6 separate regions of the Homo sapiens genome follow, and regions 1, 2, 3, 4 and 6 are each linked to region 5. The links are contacts of gene promoters, found by promoter capture Hi-C in blood cells and fetal thymus (Javierre and others, 2016). All regions are on one chromosome and are shown on one strand. The core of a region is centred on a gene start or on the middle of the fragment in contact, and the rest is flanking DNA. Distances in the headings are between cores, read along the strand shown. Region 1 has its middle 20 kb from the start of TIMM21. Region 2 overlaps TIMM21 (translocase of inner mitochondrial membrane 21). Region 3 has its middle 36 kb from the start of TIMM21. Region 4 has its middle 54 kb from the start of TIMM21. Region 5 holds the start of CNDP1 (carnosine dipeptidase 1). Region 6 overlaps CYB5A (cytochrome b5 type A).

Region 1 (2,700 bases), core at 163-2,662, 370 kb before region 5:
AGCCTGCACAGGAGAGGAGGGACAAGTGGATGACAGGGATGGACAGGTGAGATGCACAGATAATAGACAGCTGGATGGATGGACAGGCCAGAAAGGAAGAAGGAAGAAACAAGGACAGAACCATGGAAAGAAGAGAGGGGAAAGCTAAGGGTAGCAGAGGCTGATGCCTCCTGTTACAGACTGAACTATGTCTCCCTCTGGCCTCCAAAACCCCTGTGATGAAACCTCCCAACCCCAGCACCTCTGAATGTAGCTGAATTTGAGGATAGGGCTTTTAAAGGGGTGATTAAGTTATAATGAGGGTGGAGGGCCCTCATCCAATTTGATTTGTCCTTATAATGAAAGGAAATCTGGGCACACAGAGACACCAGGGAGGCATTTGCACAGAGGAAGTAGCATGTGAGGACACTGCAAGAAGGTGGACATCTGCAAGCCGAGGAGAGATCTCAGGAGAAACCCACCCTGCTGACACCTTGATCTTGGACTTTCAGCCTCCAGGACTGTGGGAAAATAAACGTCTGTTGTTTAATCCCCCAAGCCAGTGGTATTCTGTTATGGCAGCTAACTTTAAGAAGTTGTAAGTGATTGTAGCAGCGTGACTTCCAGCCGTGCATTGTAAGAAACCCTGTGGCGTCGCATCCTGCCCTACCCTGTGACTGTCAGTCTTGTTCATATTTGCCAGCCACATGGTGTAAAAGGGGTCTCTTGGTGGTCTTGACTCCCATTCACTAATCATTAATGAACATTTTTATGTGGTTTACGTGTTCCTTCTTCTGGACAAATGCCTGTTCATGTCTTTTGCATGTGCTTTTATTGGTATTTTTCTGTTTTCTTTGTGTTTGTTTATTTGTTTGTTTTTGTTTTTTTGAGACCAAGTCTCACTCTGTTGCCCAGGCTGGAGGTGCAGTGGCATGATCTGGGCTCACTACAACCTCCTCCTCCCAGGCTCAAACGATTCTCCTGCCTCTGCCTCCCAAGTAGCTGGGATTACAGGTGCCCACTACCACTCCCTGATAATTTTTGTATTTTTAGTAGAGACAGGGTTTCACCATATTAGCCAGGCTGGTCTCAAACTCCTGACCTCAAGTGATCCACCTGCCTTGGCCTCCCAAAGTGTTGGAATTACAGGCATGAGCCACCATGCCTGGCCTCTATTTTCTTATTAATTTGTAAGAAGGTTTTTATATATTTGATAGTAATATTCCATTGGTTGTGTGCATAAAAGACTATCTCCAAGTTTTAAACTTGCTATTTTGCTTTATATATGATATCTTTGGATGATCAAATGTTTTTAACGATAATAAAGTCAAGATCAAGTGTATCTTTTCTTTTAAAGTAAAAAGGTACTGTGTCTTATGTAGGTACTCTTTCTCAAGTTTTTGTGTAAGGAGTCTAAACCAAGATTGAAAGGATATTCATCTCCATTGTCTATTAACCATTTTAAGTTTTGTTTTTGATATTAAGTCATTAATTCATCTGGAGTTGATTATTTTTATTTTAAGAGTATGAAGTAGTGATCCAACTTTATGTTTTCCGTATGGATGACCATGCATTCCAGCTCCATTTACTGAACTGACATCTACGTCTGTCATACACCGAAATCCCATATGTGTACAGGTCTATTTTTTGGCTCTCTTTCATTCTATTGGTTAATTTTTGCTAATACCAATACTGCACTTATCTATTTACTACATAGCTTCATAGTAGATGCTGATACCTAGTAAGAGAAAGTCACTCTCCCTACTCTTCTTATTCAGAAATACTCTAGCTAATGTTAGCTCTTTACTTTAACATAATATTTAGCATTATTTTCATCAACATCCATGGGAAGCCCTTTCGGGATTTTCTATGGTCTCTCTATTTAATTTATTAAAAAATTGGGGAAGTAATATGTCTATAGGAATGATAATCAAATTTTCTAAAAATTATCGGCATTCCGAGGCTTGTGGCCACATCACCCCCGTCTCTGCCTCCATCTTTACATCATAATCTCCTCTGCACTTGTCTTCTCTTCTGTGTCTGTCTTACAAAAATACATGCCCTTGAATTTAGGGCCCACCCCTATAACCCAGGACTAATGCATCCTCTCAAAATCCTTAACTTAAGCACATATTTTACCATAGAAGATAATATCCGCAGGTTCCCAGATTGAAATGTGAACCCACCTTGTGGGAGACCACCCCTCAGGAGGCCACCAAAAGCATCTGCTACAGCAGTGTGTGGCCCGAGGTCATCTTACCATACACGCCTGGAACCAGGGATGTCTGATTTTCAAATCCTGAGTGTTTACACATCACCTAATGTTGCCTTTCATGTTTTTTTTGTTTTTTTACCTGCCTACATTTCAGTTTCCCCATCTCTTAAATGAGGACAATAATACCTACTTCTTAGGGATTTTGTAAGGACCATATGAGGCCATAGGGAAGGGGCTTCAGCAGTAGCTGGCACATGGTTACCCCGCAACTGTCGGTATGTTTCTTGCCTTCCTTTTACATTGTACATAGAGAAGGCATCATTTTAATTCCTGTATCTCCAGTTACTACAGTATTTGGATGTTAATAAGTTCTCAGAAAAAAAAAAATGTGTTAAATCTAAACCTTATAAGTACCTATAGTTCTAATACCCAAGCAATGCATTATTCAAAAAGTGACTGAGAAAGCTACCAAATTCCTGGAGTGCCAGCCATGAGAGATAGGAGGC
Region 2 (2,700 bases), core at 11-2,510, 380 kb before region 5:
GCATTGTGGTAGGAGGTATAGGGTACAATTGTCTTTTACTTGGGAGGGCATGTCTTGGCACGCCCCAGTGTAGCCCCACGAGGTCGGCTCATGTGTTGATGAGCCTCTGCATCTTTGTTGGACCCACCTCTCACACTTGCAGCTTCTCTGACCAAGCCTTCTAACACACTTGCCACTTGTTACTTATGGGCTCTAACATGATGGCATAAATATAGTAGACAAATGTGATATTCTCCTGAATGTCCAGAACAGCATTATTCAAATAAAACTTTCTGCATAGAAATGTCCTATATCTGTGCTGTCCATTTGGGTAGTTCCTGGCCACTTGTAGCTATTTTGAGCACTTGAAATGTTGCTAAAACTTGTGACTGAAGAACTGAATTGATTTAATTTTAATTAATTTAAAATTGAACTGAAATAGCCATGAGTGGCAAGTGGCTACTGTATTAGACAGCCCAGGTCCAGAAGGTTTCAGTCCCTTAAGACTGTTATGATAGAGGGTGAGAGAATTAGCAAATCCTGGGCAGGATCATAAACATACACTGTTATTATCTGTTTCATGTTACTACAGACTACTGCTGCTGCTTCTGAATAGAAGGCGTTCTTCAAAGCAATGGCCAATACCATGAGATTGTGTTAATGCATTCCCCTGTAAAGTTACCATTTGTGGTATTACATGTGTACCCCGGCTGCCACTTGGTTGAGTTTGCAGTTAACCACTGTCATTCTCCAGCACCTATTTGTGTTTTGTAAAGGAAGACTGGTAAATTACAAGGGACCGTGATGGGGATCGCCATGCCTGTATCTAAGGTCTCTAAGAATACTCTGCCATTCCCCATAGATGTGATATCATTTTTAATTTCCTATCTTGGTCACCGAAAGGGCAGCTTCAGGGGCTTCCATTTGACTTTTCCCACTGCGATGGCTCTTAACCCACTTCCAAAGGAACTAAAGTGGGAGTTATTGTTGCCAGTTACTCAGTACATCCCCTTGATTTATACATTTGGAAATCACAGAAATTATTGCCAGGTAAGTCCCTGGACCCACCTGTGAGCTTCTTACATCCGGTGATGGAGGGCGGTCAGGGGGTCATCATGACTCTTTGGGTCCTTGGGTATCACTGTCAGCACAGACTATGTCCAAGTTGATAACTGTAGGTCCTTTTGGTGAAGGACGGGGGGAGTCAGTTACATACGCTTTCCTTCAGTAAATGCGTTCCAGGTCTGAAAACTGGTTCAGGTCCAGAAACTGGGGCAATGTTCAGGACTTTGCATTAGAGCAGCTGCCTTCAGCCTCAGGAATCATCTGTAGTTAATTTCTCATGACTGTGTAATTCAGAAGTAGCCTTGTCCGCTGCCCTTGTGTCTTCCCTTTGGAAACACTGTGTTCTAGTCATCAACTCTGTTGCTTTCTGTAGGTCAGACACTCCCGACTGCCACTCCAGCCTTGCCATTAGTTATGATGGTTGCACCCACCTTGGCTTCTGTTTAACACCCCAGCCTGGTCTCTGCTTCATAATTCTTTCATCTCCATTTCTGTCAGGGCATCCTGCTCTATAAAGATGTAACTGTGGCTTCCTTGTGGCTTTGGTACACAGTGTCCTCCTGTCCCTCCTAAGAACATAGTCAGCTGGTGGGTTTTCGGGCTTTATATCTTATATCTATGGTAGCATCCCCATTCTTGGAGGCTGTTGAGCCTTTCGTCCAGTTTGCCATGGCTGTTCTGTCACTTTTACTTAATGTGGACCATCACTGTCTCGAAGTTTCCAGGAGCAGACCTAGCCAGCTGCATATCAGTTCCCAGGGTGCTTGCCTGGTTGCTAAATTCATCACAGGAGCGTGCCCCATGCTGATCAACTCTCAGCTGGTTTTGTGTTCTGTGCCCTTGACACACCACCCTTAAGAAGCAGTGGTGTCTATGTTCCCCCCCCCCCCGGGGGGACCTCCAGCTCCTTCCGAGTATTGTTCTTCTCACCCTTCTCATGCCCAGTCGTGTTGTAACTTGGCCAGGAGGGGAGGTGGAGAGCCCTCCTGAGAGCAGCACGTATCTTGCTAGGCAGAAACCCCCACCCACCCCTCGCCCAGTTTCCAAGGTGGAGGAAGTGCCAACCTTTACCAGACACTGAGCTGCTGCTTCAGGGCTAGAGGGGTCAGGAGAATTGGGATTCAAGATTTTTTACAACATTGACCTCAAGGGCCCCCTACCCAGCTTTAGGTTGCCTTTCCTCCCAAATCAGGACCCTGACCTTGGTGTGGGAGGTCTCATGGGCTTGAAATGCCAAACTCCCTGAATCCCTTCCGCCCCAGACCTCACCCACGCATTTTCTATCCTCTGGGTGCAATTTGAGTCTTGTTCTGCCGGGGAGGAGGCTCCTGCCCTTGGCACTCACCTTCACTGGTGATTAGTTACACACTTCATCTCACCATCCCTCTCCATGGCCCCAGCCACAGCCGTCTGATATAAGTCCTTAAAATTGCTGATTCCTCCTAAACTCCCAGAATAACACATCAGCCAGTACATTCCCTTCCGCCAGCATTCCATCCCAGGTCCCCATTGGTGAGAGCTGCATCAGCTGCACTACAGCTCTATGACAGGTGCTGTCAGTACCCCCCTACCACCAGGGACAGGGTCCTCATTGCCAGCCAGTGGCCGGCAAGCCAGCTCCAAAATCCAAATTGAGAGCTGCTTACCACTCCTGGT
Region 3 (2,763 bases), core at 263-2,762, 350 kb before region 5:
CCTACTTCTCCTCTCCTGTCCCGGACCTGCCCCCACCTCTTCCCTTCTCTCCCCACCTCTTCCCCACCTGTCCCCTCTTCTCCACTCCACCTGCCCAGCAGCACTTCCTGTTCTACACACAGATCCTCCTTTCACTGGGCAATTCAATCCCTTCTACTCCCTGGTCTCATGTTACACAGAGGAAACAAGAGCATATCTGTGCTTCATAATAGACATGAACTTAAAAGAATAAACCCCACACATGTGTGTACTAACATTCCTCTACTTATTAACACCAATAAAAATTAGGCATGCCCTAATACATTCACATTCCTTTTTGGCACATTTGAGATTAGCTTTTCTTTCCAGAGCATCCTTACAAATCCACAGGTCTGCAAATACTGACCTTACCTGAACTAAGGTTGTCATTTTCTTTTTAAGCTCGTTACTGCAATGAGACCATCAGAAGTTTCTTTATGCCAGTTCCTTTGTCGTGATATCATTGAGAGGCCCGATATATGGGATGCATTCCCTCCAAGAGCACTGTCTGGAGGGGTGGAGAATGGTGCTGGAGAGAATCATGACTCAGGCAGTGGGAGCACACAGGACCCGGAGAGGCAGTGCCATCCATTCTCCTTAGGCCACATTTCCCAAGGAAATCGGGAAAAACATTTTTTTTAAAGCTCATAATGTCACATTATGTTAATTAAAGTTAATTAAAATGGAAATGAAGTAATTTAATTTAAACAATTTAATTAAAATGTTTGAAATTTCTATTTTATTTCCACTACAACCTATCTGCTTTAATTTTTAAACCTGTCTTCAAACTGTAATTATGCCTCTTTCTCTTTAATAAGTTCCACCTTACTCATTAACCATCTTTCTGTCACAGTTTATTGAGAGTTCCATTTAAGAAGCCCATAGTGTATGTATTTGGGAAATTCAGATCTTCAAACAAAGTACACGAGCTTAGAATGTGATCTAGAAGGCACAAGCCAGTGGGTAGGGAGGTTTTGGGGGGCTAGGACCTTTCCATTTCCCTACATTATTACTGTGCCCACCACCACTTAAAGAAAGGTTCCAGGCTCACCCCTAAAGCTGCCATCTGACTTAATAAGGTCAGTCTACAAGGTATTGTTTGTCTTAACAGTAATTTAGCAAGGTCCTTTTCTTTGGTTTCCAGAAAGCCAATGTAGTAGGTTTCACTGCTCATGTTTTTTAATGAAGGGAAACGGCTTTAAGTTTTTGTAAGTCTTTGGTAACAATGGGCTAAATTTCCCCAGCAGTATTTCGGAAGACCTTCTTAACTTGCCTCATTACTCTTTAGCACATACCTATGAGCCTTGATTCTTAGAAGAATAAGAAGAAAACGCTCTTCTGGGTGTTACAGCTGGCAGACTTGAAAAGGGCAATTTACTTTCCTTTGTTTACCTCTTTTATTCACTGTTCTTCTCTAAAGAAATACAAATGTGCCAATTAGGTAGAAAATACAAATGTGCCAGTTAGGGAGAAAAGATTTGCAACACAGGTGGATTCCTCTATTCACCAAAGATTCATCTCAGTTTCTTTCCAAAAGCAAGACCCTTAACTACATTTAATTATAATTTATATATTCTAGAACAATATTCACAATCATACAGAGGCATTAATCATACAGAGGTATTAATTTTTAAAGTTCCAATAACACAAAAGGTGGAAAATGCAGGTTTGACTGGTATCCCAGGTGGTACAGTGAGCAGCTGCCATCTCACCTTTGCCAAATGCATTGGAAAACTCTCCAAGGGCCTCAAAGTGGGGCTGTAGCTTACGGTCCCTTTCAGGCCCATGAGAACCTGGGTGGGGTGGGAAAGGTGAAAAATGCATGCCTTCCTGTGTGGGACAGTAAATGTAGGTAATCTGGAATGTGTGAGGTTTGGCCTCGGGCACCTAGTGAAGCAGCGTCATTGTCTGGGGTAAATACCAGAAGTTCATTGTCTCACACCAAGGGAATCAAGGATGTGGACACACAAAAAGTGAGTTTAAAGAGCAGAGGTTTAATAGGTGAAAGAAAGAAAAGAGAAGAGCTCTGTCTCTTGCAGAGAGAGAGGGGCTCCTAAGTGGGACTTCTGGTCTGCAGCAAAGTGCACGGGGGTTTTATAGGCTGATAGACTGTCTTGAAGAGGCGGTGTCTGATTTACAAAGGGCCCAAAAATTGGTTGGACCAGGTGTGCTATTTATGTAGTGTGCAAAGAAGCTGGCCACCCCACCTTAATTTTTATTATGCAGATGTGTTCTCTATCTGGCTGGCACCATGTTGTCTGTTCCTTATTGTACACGTGGTTGACAAAGAAAAGGGAAGATAGAGCCTTCGTGTTGAATATACCTGCCCCCCAGGTAGACTTTTCCTATTGGCATAGCTGCCGGCATTCACCTGGGCAGGATTCCAGCTTGCTTATCTATGTCTGCAGCTCGATTTTAGAGGCTGCTCTTTGGTAGAAAAGAAATGATTTGGGGGCTGCTTTTCATTAAAAAGAAAACCTTACCAAGGACACGTCTACACTCACTACCTGCCTAAATCATTTCTTTTTAACTCCTATATCACTAGGGCTGCTTTGAAATACTGGAAGGATCATGAGCTCATCCTGGGACTGAGAGGGAAACTGAAATGGCAGGAAATATGAAAAAGTTTGGAAACTTTGAGTGAGGCTTGGGCAAGACTGTGTTTCCACAGCAGATTGATGTCTGGGTTCTGATTAAATACTTCTAAAATCCCCTAAGATTCTTCCAGGCAGCCAAATGGTGATT
Region 4 (2,861 bases), core at 62-2,561, 330 kb before region 5:
TGAAGCCAACACTTACCTTCCTGGTCATTTGCCCCCAACTGACTGCCCTACCCAAGCCCCTTTGTCTTGTCATGTTTCCACAATTTATGACACTTTGTTCAACCTAGTGCATAAGTTCGTGGCCCCAACTCCTTCTTTGGGTCTTCGTTTTTCTTGTGAGGGCTCCCATGTCTATACAAAAATTACTTAATAAAATCTGCCTACTTTTCTCCTCTGAAGCTGTCTCTGTCAGTGGATTCACTGGGCTCATCTAGCAACTCTAAAAGGGCTGAGGAGAAATTTTGCATCCCCAACACAAACTAAAACCTGAAAGATGACTTAGCTGCTCTAAATATTGACCTGGTCATCTATAAAATCAAGGTAAGTGTTGGAAGTTTGCTGCATCCCCCCAAAAAGATATGTAAATGTGACCTTATGTGGAAATACAATCATTGCAGATATCATTAATGTGTGAATGAAGATAGATCATACTGGATTTGGATGGGCCCTAAGTCCAGTGCCGGGTGTTCTTATGGGAAGAGGTGGGACACAGAGAGATACACATGCAGAGGCCAGGCGAGGACAGAGGCAGCGATTGGAGTAATGTACCCACATATCAAGGAACAGAGAGGATTGCCAACAACCACCTCTCCAGAGGCTGGAGGAAGCAGGATGGACCCTCCCCTAGAGTCTTCAGAGGGAGAATGGCCCTGAGGACACCTTGATTTTGGACTTCTGGCCTCCAGAGCTGTGGGAGAGTAAATTTCTGTTACTACACCACCTAGTCTATGGTACTTGGTTACAGCATCTCTGGGCAACTAATACAGTGGGCTGGCTGTGAGGATTAAATGAGATTACGTAAGTAAATGCTTGTTCAGTGTTATATATCATCCCCTTTTTTTTTTTCTCTTCCCTAGGAACTAGAAATAGAAATAAACCCAAGAAGGGCTTTGATAATGCTGCTGTCACCTGAGAACTTAAAGGTGAGTCCTGCTGTGCTTTGATCAATCTAACCAAAACGCACAACCAGATTATGCATTCAGAGGCTCAGAGATTTGGAGCTGAGGGGTTTGACCCCACAGATATGAGGGGTATCTGCATGAAGCCTTACAGGAAAGGGTCTCAGTCTGAGCTGGTGACTGGATGCCTCAATGGGCCCCAACCCTGGGCAGGGGGTCCTTGGGACATGGGAGGAGCAGAAGCTGCCAAGTGAATTGTTTTGCTCTGTGATGGCAGAAGGACCTCAGGCCAGTCAGAGCCCAGGACCCCAGTGATTGGTAAGATGAGGGACACAGGTGATCTCCAAGTCCTCTCCATCCTCTCACTTCAGTAGCGCAATGAGTCCAAAATGTGGGGATCCAGGAATCCCAAGAGACCAGCCCCTGAGGCAGTGATACCATATGAGTTGTGCTATTCCAAAAGGACATCTCAAATCCATATTTATGCTTGATGCCCAATCCTACTCAATCCTCTATACTTGTGAGAGTAGCTCAGTTGCTGGAAATCATTTTTTCAGTTTCGTTGAAGATTAGTTGGCCTCGAGGCTCTGGTCTAGTAGAAGAGAAGTCCAGCGTTTGAATCAGATCATGGAAGATGGCTCTAGAGGAAGCTGATGTGCACATGTGTGGAGCCTGGGGGTCACCAGCCCAGTCACAGCCACGGCCCACGAGGGTCACCAGCCCAGTCACAGCACGGCCCACAGAGTACGGTCTTCCCATGGCCACAGAAGGAAGGGCTGGCCTCCCTGGCCATGATGGTGCTCTCAGTGCCCACGTGACGGGGATGGCACCATGTTCTTCCCCAGGGCTGCCATAACAAGGAACCACACCCAGGAAGACTTAGATACAGCTGTGGAAGCTGGAATTCCGAGATGAAGGTGCCCAGGGGCTGGTTCCTTCCGAGGGCACGGAGAGAGAAGCTGTTCTTGGCCTCTCTCCCTGCTTCTGGCAGCTGCTGGCAACCTTTGGTGCTCGTTGGTGTGCAGAAGCATCACCTCGACTTCTGCCTCCATCTTCACAGGGCCTTCTCCCTGCATGCATGTCTGTCTCCGCATCCACATTTCCCCTTTTGAAAAGGACACAGTCATACTGGCTTAGGGCCCACCCTAATGACCACATTGGAATTTGATTGCCTCTATAAAGACCCTATCTCCAAATAAGGTCACATTCTGAGGTACTGGGGGTTAGGACTTCAACATATGAAATTTTAAGGGACACATTTCAACCCATAATTGGTGGGTGCCCTTGCCCCGGGACTCCAGCTTCAGGGGAGCTGGGGGAAGGCCTTAAAGGCTGTAACACACAGTAGCCACATGGACAGGTTTCTGTGGCTTGCCTTCCAGAACCCAAGGCTATGCGGCTGTCAGACTTTTTTAGCATCTAGTGTCAGAAACACAACTCAAGCAAGTTTAGGCATAAAGGAAATTTAACAACCTCTGGAATCAAAAAAAAAAAAAAAATGGGTGGGGATTGTTCAGCCAGATATAAGAAGGCCAGAGATGCAGCTGCCTTCAAGGATAGCTGGGTCAGGCCTTGACCCCACGAGGATCTCCTCTCTGCACGTCAGCTCCCTCCACGCGGTGCAGCTGGCTTCCTTGGTGGGCCAGGAACAAGGCTGCACAGTGGCCTCACAGCCTGCGTGTCAGGGATGGGCTCCTCTTTGGCTCTGCTTCAGAAAGTCCCAGGAGAGGCCATCCCGGACCTGCCAGCTATGGGCTGGGAGGTGGGATGCAGGGGAAGCCCAGCAGTCTCACCAAGGCCACGTGCATAGAATCAGGAGTGGCAGGGGAGTGAGGACAGTCCCAAAACAAGTGGCACAAAAGGAACATATCGTGGGCCCCCAAAATCACTGAGCTAAAGGGAAAATTCCAGCTGGGAGCTGCT
Region 5 (2,700 bases), core at 78-2,577:
CCTCAGAATGTGACCTTCTATGGAGATAGGGTCATTGCAGATTGAATTACTTATCTTTAGATAAGGTCACATGGGCATAGGATGGACCCCTGATTACACACAACTGTGTCCTTATGAGAAGGGACAATCTGGACACACACACATACACAGGGAGAACATCATAAGAAGATGAGGGCAGAGATCGGGTGATGCTTGTACAAGACAAGGGACACCAAGGACGGCCAGCAGCCACGCGGGTCAAGGCCTGGAGCACGCCCTTCCCGCTCAGCCTCAGGAGAAACCTGCCCTGCCCATACCTTCATCTCAGACTTCCAGTCTCCAGAATTGAGACCGATTTCTGTTGCTTAAGCCACCCAGTGTAGGGTACTTTTGTTAGAGCAGATGTTGGGGCTCAGAAGCCAATACCCCAAAATATGGTGCTTTGTTCAAGCTGAACTGAAAAGGAACTTCAAGGCCTCTCGGCTCCCCCACCCCCACCATCTCTCCCAGAGTTCCTGAAGTGTCCTTATCTCCTTCAAGTCTGACCCACCAAAGAAGAAAGGAATGACCTCTAGTCCCTTCCCTGAGTTTTCGTTAACTGAACCCATATCTCAGGAAGGAAGGCTGACACCGAACACGCTGGACAGACTTGTCAAGACCATTGTCTGCTCCGGGGCCCAGCAGACTTGAACGAAGACCGTGGCGTGCTCTTCAAGCCCACTGAATCCTCCCTCGTGAGCGCTGATTGCCCTCAGCTGAAGTCCTCTTTTCTCCTCCCATAACCTGTTGCGCGAGAATCTAAGCCGCCACTCCTTGTGGAACCTCAAGAGGGTGTCTCAGCTTCCCAACCCCATTAGGGATTGGTCCTTCCTTCTGAAGGCTCCCATGTCACTTAAAACTAGGAGCAAATCAATCTGTTATGCCTCTTCTCCAATTCAACTGCCCTTTGCAAGCTGATTTTGCAGCGAACCTTCAGAGAGCTGGGAAAACTCTACCCTCGGCCCCTGCACAGCCCTAGGAAGCTAATCCTCGGCCGTAACATTCCATCACAAGGGCCCACAGCCACAGTGTGTGGGGGCCTGTCATGTGAGGGGGCTGTCACCTGAGGGGGCTGTGCCGCTGGCTCAGCTCTGCCTGCTGGCCGGGGCCCTACTCCCTCTCAGAGATGACACACAAGTGCCCCCAAAGAAGAACCCGAGGAGTCGCAGGCTGGGCCAGGCTGCTGGCTTCCAGTGACATCACATGACTTTGGGGCCACTGCCTCATCCCGTATCTGCGCGTATGAGATGCATTGTCTCTTCCTCTGCAGTTGAGCTGAATGAATACCTCCGAAGCCGCTTTGTTCTCCAGATGTGAATAGCTCCACTATACCAGCCTCGTCTTCCTTCCGGGGGACAACGTGGGTCAGGGCACAGAGAGATATTTAATGTCACCCTCTTGGGGCTTTCATGGGACTCCCTCTGCCACATTTTTTGGAGGTTGGGAAAGTTGCTAGAGGCTTCAGAACTCCAGCCTAATGGATCCCAAACTCGGGAGAATGGTGAGTAGGACCTCCTCCATCAGAGTCCGTGCATTGGGTGCCAGAATTCCATTTGTCCCGGGAGCATGTGCGTTAAGCCCAGTTGGGCAGGGCAGGCACCCAGCGTGGCCCCAGATGCTGCTCCTCATGGTGTTCTTAGGTGCTGTCTTGGCCGAGGAATGTGGTATTTGGAATTATATTTTATCAGTAATGCTTTTGGGTAGTTGTGTGTTCTTAACAATAATTAAATGGCATTATTGTCAAGTAGTTCATATTCAAATTGTTCATGAACTCAGTCTTCTTAAATCAATTTTTTTCTGTACTTTTTCTCTTTAAAAAAAATGAGTTTGCTTCCTGGAAGAATTTGCCTAAATAATGGTAACAGACAGTGTGCTGTTTGTCCTGGTCCCAGGTTCCCGACTTAAGGGCTAGTTTGCAAGAGCTAATCACCGGGCTAAATCACCCCAGGCCTTTCTCGGCGAGGTTTCCATGGTTCAGGTGCAAACCTGAGTGTGGGTGTGGCGGGAAGGCTTCTCTCTAGGAAAACAAGCAGGCAGGTACCTTTGGCTGTGAGGTTTTGTGGGGTTGTGTTCCAGACTACTTGGAAAGATAAAATTCATGGACGCTTTTTATTTCCATTGCAAACACACACATACACACACAGAAATTTTCAGAATTTTGTGGAAGGTTGATACGTAGAAGACTCTCAAAAGACATACTGAAACAAATACATGCAAATGCGAGGCTGGAGACACAGTGAGCAGGCAGGTGGTGACCTGACCACAGCCGGATTCTAGAAGTGGGCTTTGCCCACCTGCAAGACCATGAGATTCCCACACCATGCTGCAAAATCACTGCTCTGAGAGAAAGAACCTCACCCTGTGGTCTGGCCATGCTTTCCATTGCTGACTTTTTTTTTTTTTTAAAGAACCCATGACTGGCCAGGGCATTGGGGTGGGGGTTAGAAGAGGACATTTCACTGAATACTGTCTTACTTTAAAAAATCTTTAAACTGTGTCATGATAGTATCTATTCAAAACATTAAAGTTAAAAGCAACATGAAAGAAAATAATTTCCCTGGCTGGGCATGGTGGCTTATGTCTGCAATCCCAACACTTTAGGAGGCCAAAGCAGGAGGATCACCTGAGCCCAGGAGTTCAAGACTGGCCTGGGCAACATAGTGAGACCCTGACTCTACAAAC
Region 6 (2,734 bases), core at 231-2,730, 280 kb before region 5:
AGCAATAGAGAAAAAAGTGTCAAATATCTTTCCTTGAGAGTCTGGCTGCACAAACTGTAAATGTTAAAATTAGGAAGTAAACTCTCCTTTACTCCACATGTTGTTCCCAAAACACATGAAGAAACATTGCCAGCCACAGCAGCAAATTGCTGAGTCACTGATAAAAATGTCAAAGTTCAACTGTTATGTTTCTTAACGATATACAGATGCTATTACTCAACATCTTAAAAATGATTTACAAGTTAACCCTTTAATGTCATCTAAGGTACGACTGACCCACTTCGATTCACTTCATAGTTGATTTAGGAGCAATGTTTTAAAAACTACTAAAATGTGAAGCTTTATAGCTAAAAATCACAACCAAAAATATTGAAATATTTACATAGGTCCCTTAACAAGTGTTGTAATTTATTTTGAAATAGAAACTACTTGTCAACTTTCAGTGACTAAAGAAGGCAAAGGCGGTGCATCCTATTTGATTATAAAGGTTGTACTCTGTAAGAACAACACAATTCCTTTCCACTGCACGCGGTCACTTCTGAAGAACCTCGTGGTTTGTCAGCTCATGCCAGTGCAAATGCAGTCACAGCCAATGACACATGTACTGGGTTCTAACAAATTCAGCTTTCAAGTTTCCACATTTAAAAGAATAACACATAAGGCAGAGAATAATAAATGGGAAGTAAGATGACTGAATCAGCCCCTTAGAGCCCCCAGGAGGAGACAGAGCCACACCAGAACTCTTCAGAGCTTGACACTAGCCGCTAAATTTCTTCAAAGATCAGATTCCAATGTCCCACAATCTCCTTACAAATTAGAAAACCAGCCTTTCCTTAGAAGAGTTTACAAACAATTCTACTCTCTGAATGAGGAATTCTTAAAACTTTAGAACCTATGAAGCTGTGAGTGCCTTTGCAATGATACGTGTAAGCTGAGAGAATGGACAGTTGCGATGCCCTCTCATGGTTCATGTGTTTTTAAGTTGCTGATGTTTTTCAATCAGTGAAGATAAGAAGTCTCTCTTATAGGCCCTGTAGGCTACTTTCTTTTTTTTTTGAGACAGAGTTTCACTCTTGTTGCCCAGCTGGAGTTCAACGGCGCGATCTCAGCTCACTACAACCTCTGCCTCCTGGGTTCAAGCAATTCTCCTGCCTCAGCCTCCCAAGTAGCCGGGATTACAGGCATGCGCCACTACGCCCTGCTAATTTTGTATTTTTAGTAGAGACAGGGTTTCACCATGTTGGTCAGGCTGGTCTTGAACTCCTGACCTCAAGTGATCCACCCACCTCAGCCTCCCAAAGTGCTGGGCTTACAGGTGTGAGCCACGATGCCCAGCCGCTACTTTCTTTTTAAGATCTATTTCAAGTAGGACAATTATTAGAAATCCTTAAACTATAATTTCTGGCCTTTCTTAATTTCCTTGAAAAAAAGAAACTATATCGGAAGCATACAATACATGGTTACTCAATGAGATGTGACGATGTGAAAGGAGACACTCAAACCTATTTCCCGCACCTCCAGTCATATGGCCTCTGTGGGTCTGGATGAGTAACACATTGAAGGAATCCTCTAAATAACCAGATTCTAAACATTAAAGACAATTATACACCAAACAGGCAAACACGGTGCATACTTTAAAAGCCAAATATATTTTTAAAAGATCATGCTTATAATAAGTAAATTACACATTAAGGAAACATCAAAATAAAGTAGATGAATAAAAAGGCACACTCGAAAAATTTGAGCGCAGAAAGGACAGTTCTTTTTGTTTTGTTTCTAATGTCGGAAGAAAAAGAAAGAGATATATTAAAATCATTGTTTTCAAGTGAAGGTTTCTGTCAGTTGAAGTAGTTAGCAATGGCTTCTTTTCTCCCGTGTCCAAAGCAGGCTCTTCCTGCGCTGACTTCTGAGGAGGTGTTCAGTCCTCTGCCATGTATAGGCGATACATCAAGGCGACGGCCACTGCAGAGATGGCAGGGATCACCCAGTTGGTCCACCAACTAGAAAGACACAAAAAGCAATGATGCTGACATGATGTGCACTGTGGTGGACTCAAAATCTTTGCTCCTTCTAACAGAAAATTACCAGGGCATGTTTTTCTTAACTCTGTAATGAATTTTGCTGAAAAGGCAACGTGGATTTGCTAAAAGTGACATGAGTGTAACACATGCCCTGCTATACTAGGAATCACTCTGCCCTGCTGGCTTTATGAGAAAACTCATGCCCCACTTGGCTGGGCTCAGTGGCTCACGCCTGTAATCCCAGCACTTTGGGAGGCCAAGGCAGACGGATCACTTGAGGTCAGAAGTTTGAGACCAGCCTGGCCAACATAGTAAAAACCTTCTACCAAAAAATACAAAAAGTAGCTGGGCGTGGTGGCAGTAGCTAATTGTAATCCCAGCTACTTGGGAGGCTGGGGCAGGAGAATCGCTTGAACCTGGGAGGCAGAGGTTGCAGTGAGCCGAGATCACGCCACTGCACTCCAGCCTGTGTGATAGAGCGAGACTGTCTCAAAAACAAACTAACAAAAATAAACAAACCAAAAAATGAATGCCCCACCAGCTGTAAAGTTGAAGAGTATGGGCCCTGTGATGATTAACACTGCCATTAACACCACAGCTTTAAGCTTAGGTTTGGAAAATCTAATCTTTACTACCTGTGCTGAAGTGGATTTAAAGGGTTAAGAAACAGAATGGCCAGACTACTTGGTGTGTGGTCCACAGGTCTAAATTCA

The links. Contacts are between HindIII fragments. The CHiCAGO score rates a contact against its expected background, and 5 or more counts as called.
Region 1: a contact is called between a fragment that was not itself captured here and the fragment with the promoter of CNDP1 in region 5, in 7 of 17 cell types (neutrophils, total CD4 T cells, naive CD8 T cells and 4 more). The highest score is 7.8, in neutrophils.
Region 2: a fragment that was not itself captured here is called in contact with the fragment with the promoter of CNDP1 in region 5 in 1 of 17 cell types (neutrophils); the score reaches 5.3 in neutrophils.
Region 3: a contact is called between a fragment that was not itself captured here and the fragment with the promoter of CNDP1 in region 5, in 2 of 17 cell types (neutrophils and activated CD4 T cells). The highest score is 6.7, in neutrophils.
Region 4: a fragment that was not itself captured here is called in contact with the fragment with the promoter of CNDP1 in region 5 in 6 of 17 cell types (neutrophils, naive CD8 T cells, naive CD4 T cells and 3 more); the score reaches 10.0 in neutrophils.
Region 6: a contact is called between a fragment that was not itself captured here and the fragment with the promoter of CNDP1 in region 5, in 1 of 17 cell types (neutrophils). The highest score is 5.4, in neutrophils.

What each region holds. Positions count from the first base shown.
Region 1 is chr18:74,166,868-74,169,567 of GRCh38, forward strand. No RefSeq gene overlaps it. Among named protein-coding and RNA genes, the nearest start is that of TIMM21, 20 kb to the left of the region's middle. The HindIII fragment of the contact is 4,386 bases long and covers 1-2,700 here.
Region 2 is chr18:74,150,016-74,152,715 of GRCh38, forward strand. All of the region lies in intron 1 of TIMM21 (translocase of inner mitochondrial membrane 21), which reads left to right. Among named protein-coding and RNA genes, the nearest start is that of TIMM21, 2.8 kb to the left of the region's middle. RefSeq lists an enhancer at 502-1,701. The HindIII fragment of the contact is 5,042 bases long and covers 1-2,700 here.
Region 3 is chr18:74,183,201-74,185,963 of GRCh38, forward strand. No RefSeq gene overlaps it. Among named protein-coding and RNA genes, the nearest start is that of TIMM21, 36 kb to the left of the region's middle. The HindIII fragment of the contact is 4,062 bases long and covers 1-2,763 here.
Region 4 is chr18:74,201,451-74,204,311 of GRCh38, forward strand. No RefSeq gene overlaps it. Among named protein-coding and RNA genes, the nearest start is that of TIMM21, 54 kb to the left of the region's middle. The HindIII fragment of the contact is 6,951 bases long and covers 1-2,861 here.
Region 5 is chr18:74,533,173-74,535,872 of GRCh38, forward strand. CNDP1 (carnosine dipeptidase 1) reads left to right here and starts at 1,328. Exons shown (of 12, transcript NM_032649.6): 1 at 1,328-1,519. The coding sequence starts at 1,496. The HindIII fragment of the contact is 13,353 bases long and covers 1-2,700 here.
Region 6 is chr18:74,251,666-74,254,399 of GRCh38, forward strand. It overlaps CYB5A (cytochrome b5 type A), which reads right to left. Exons shown (of 5, transcript NM_148923.4): 5 at 1-2,000. The coding sequence ends at 1,919. Among named protein-coding and RNA genes, the nearest start is that of CYB5A, 39 kb to the right of the region's middle. The HindIII fragment of the contact is 2,287 bases long and covers 338-2,624 here.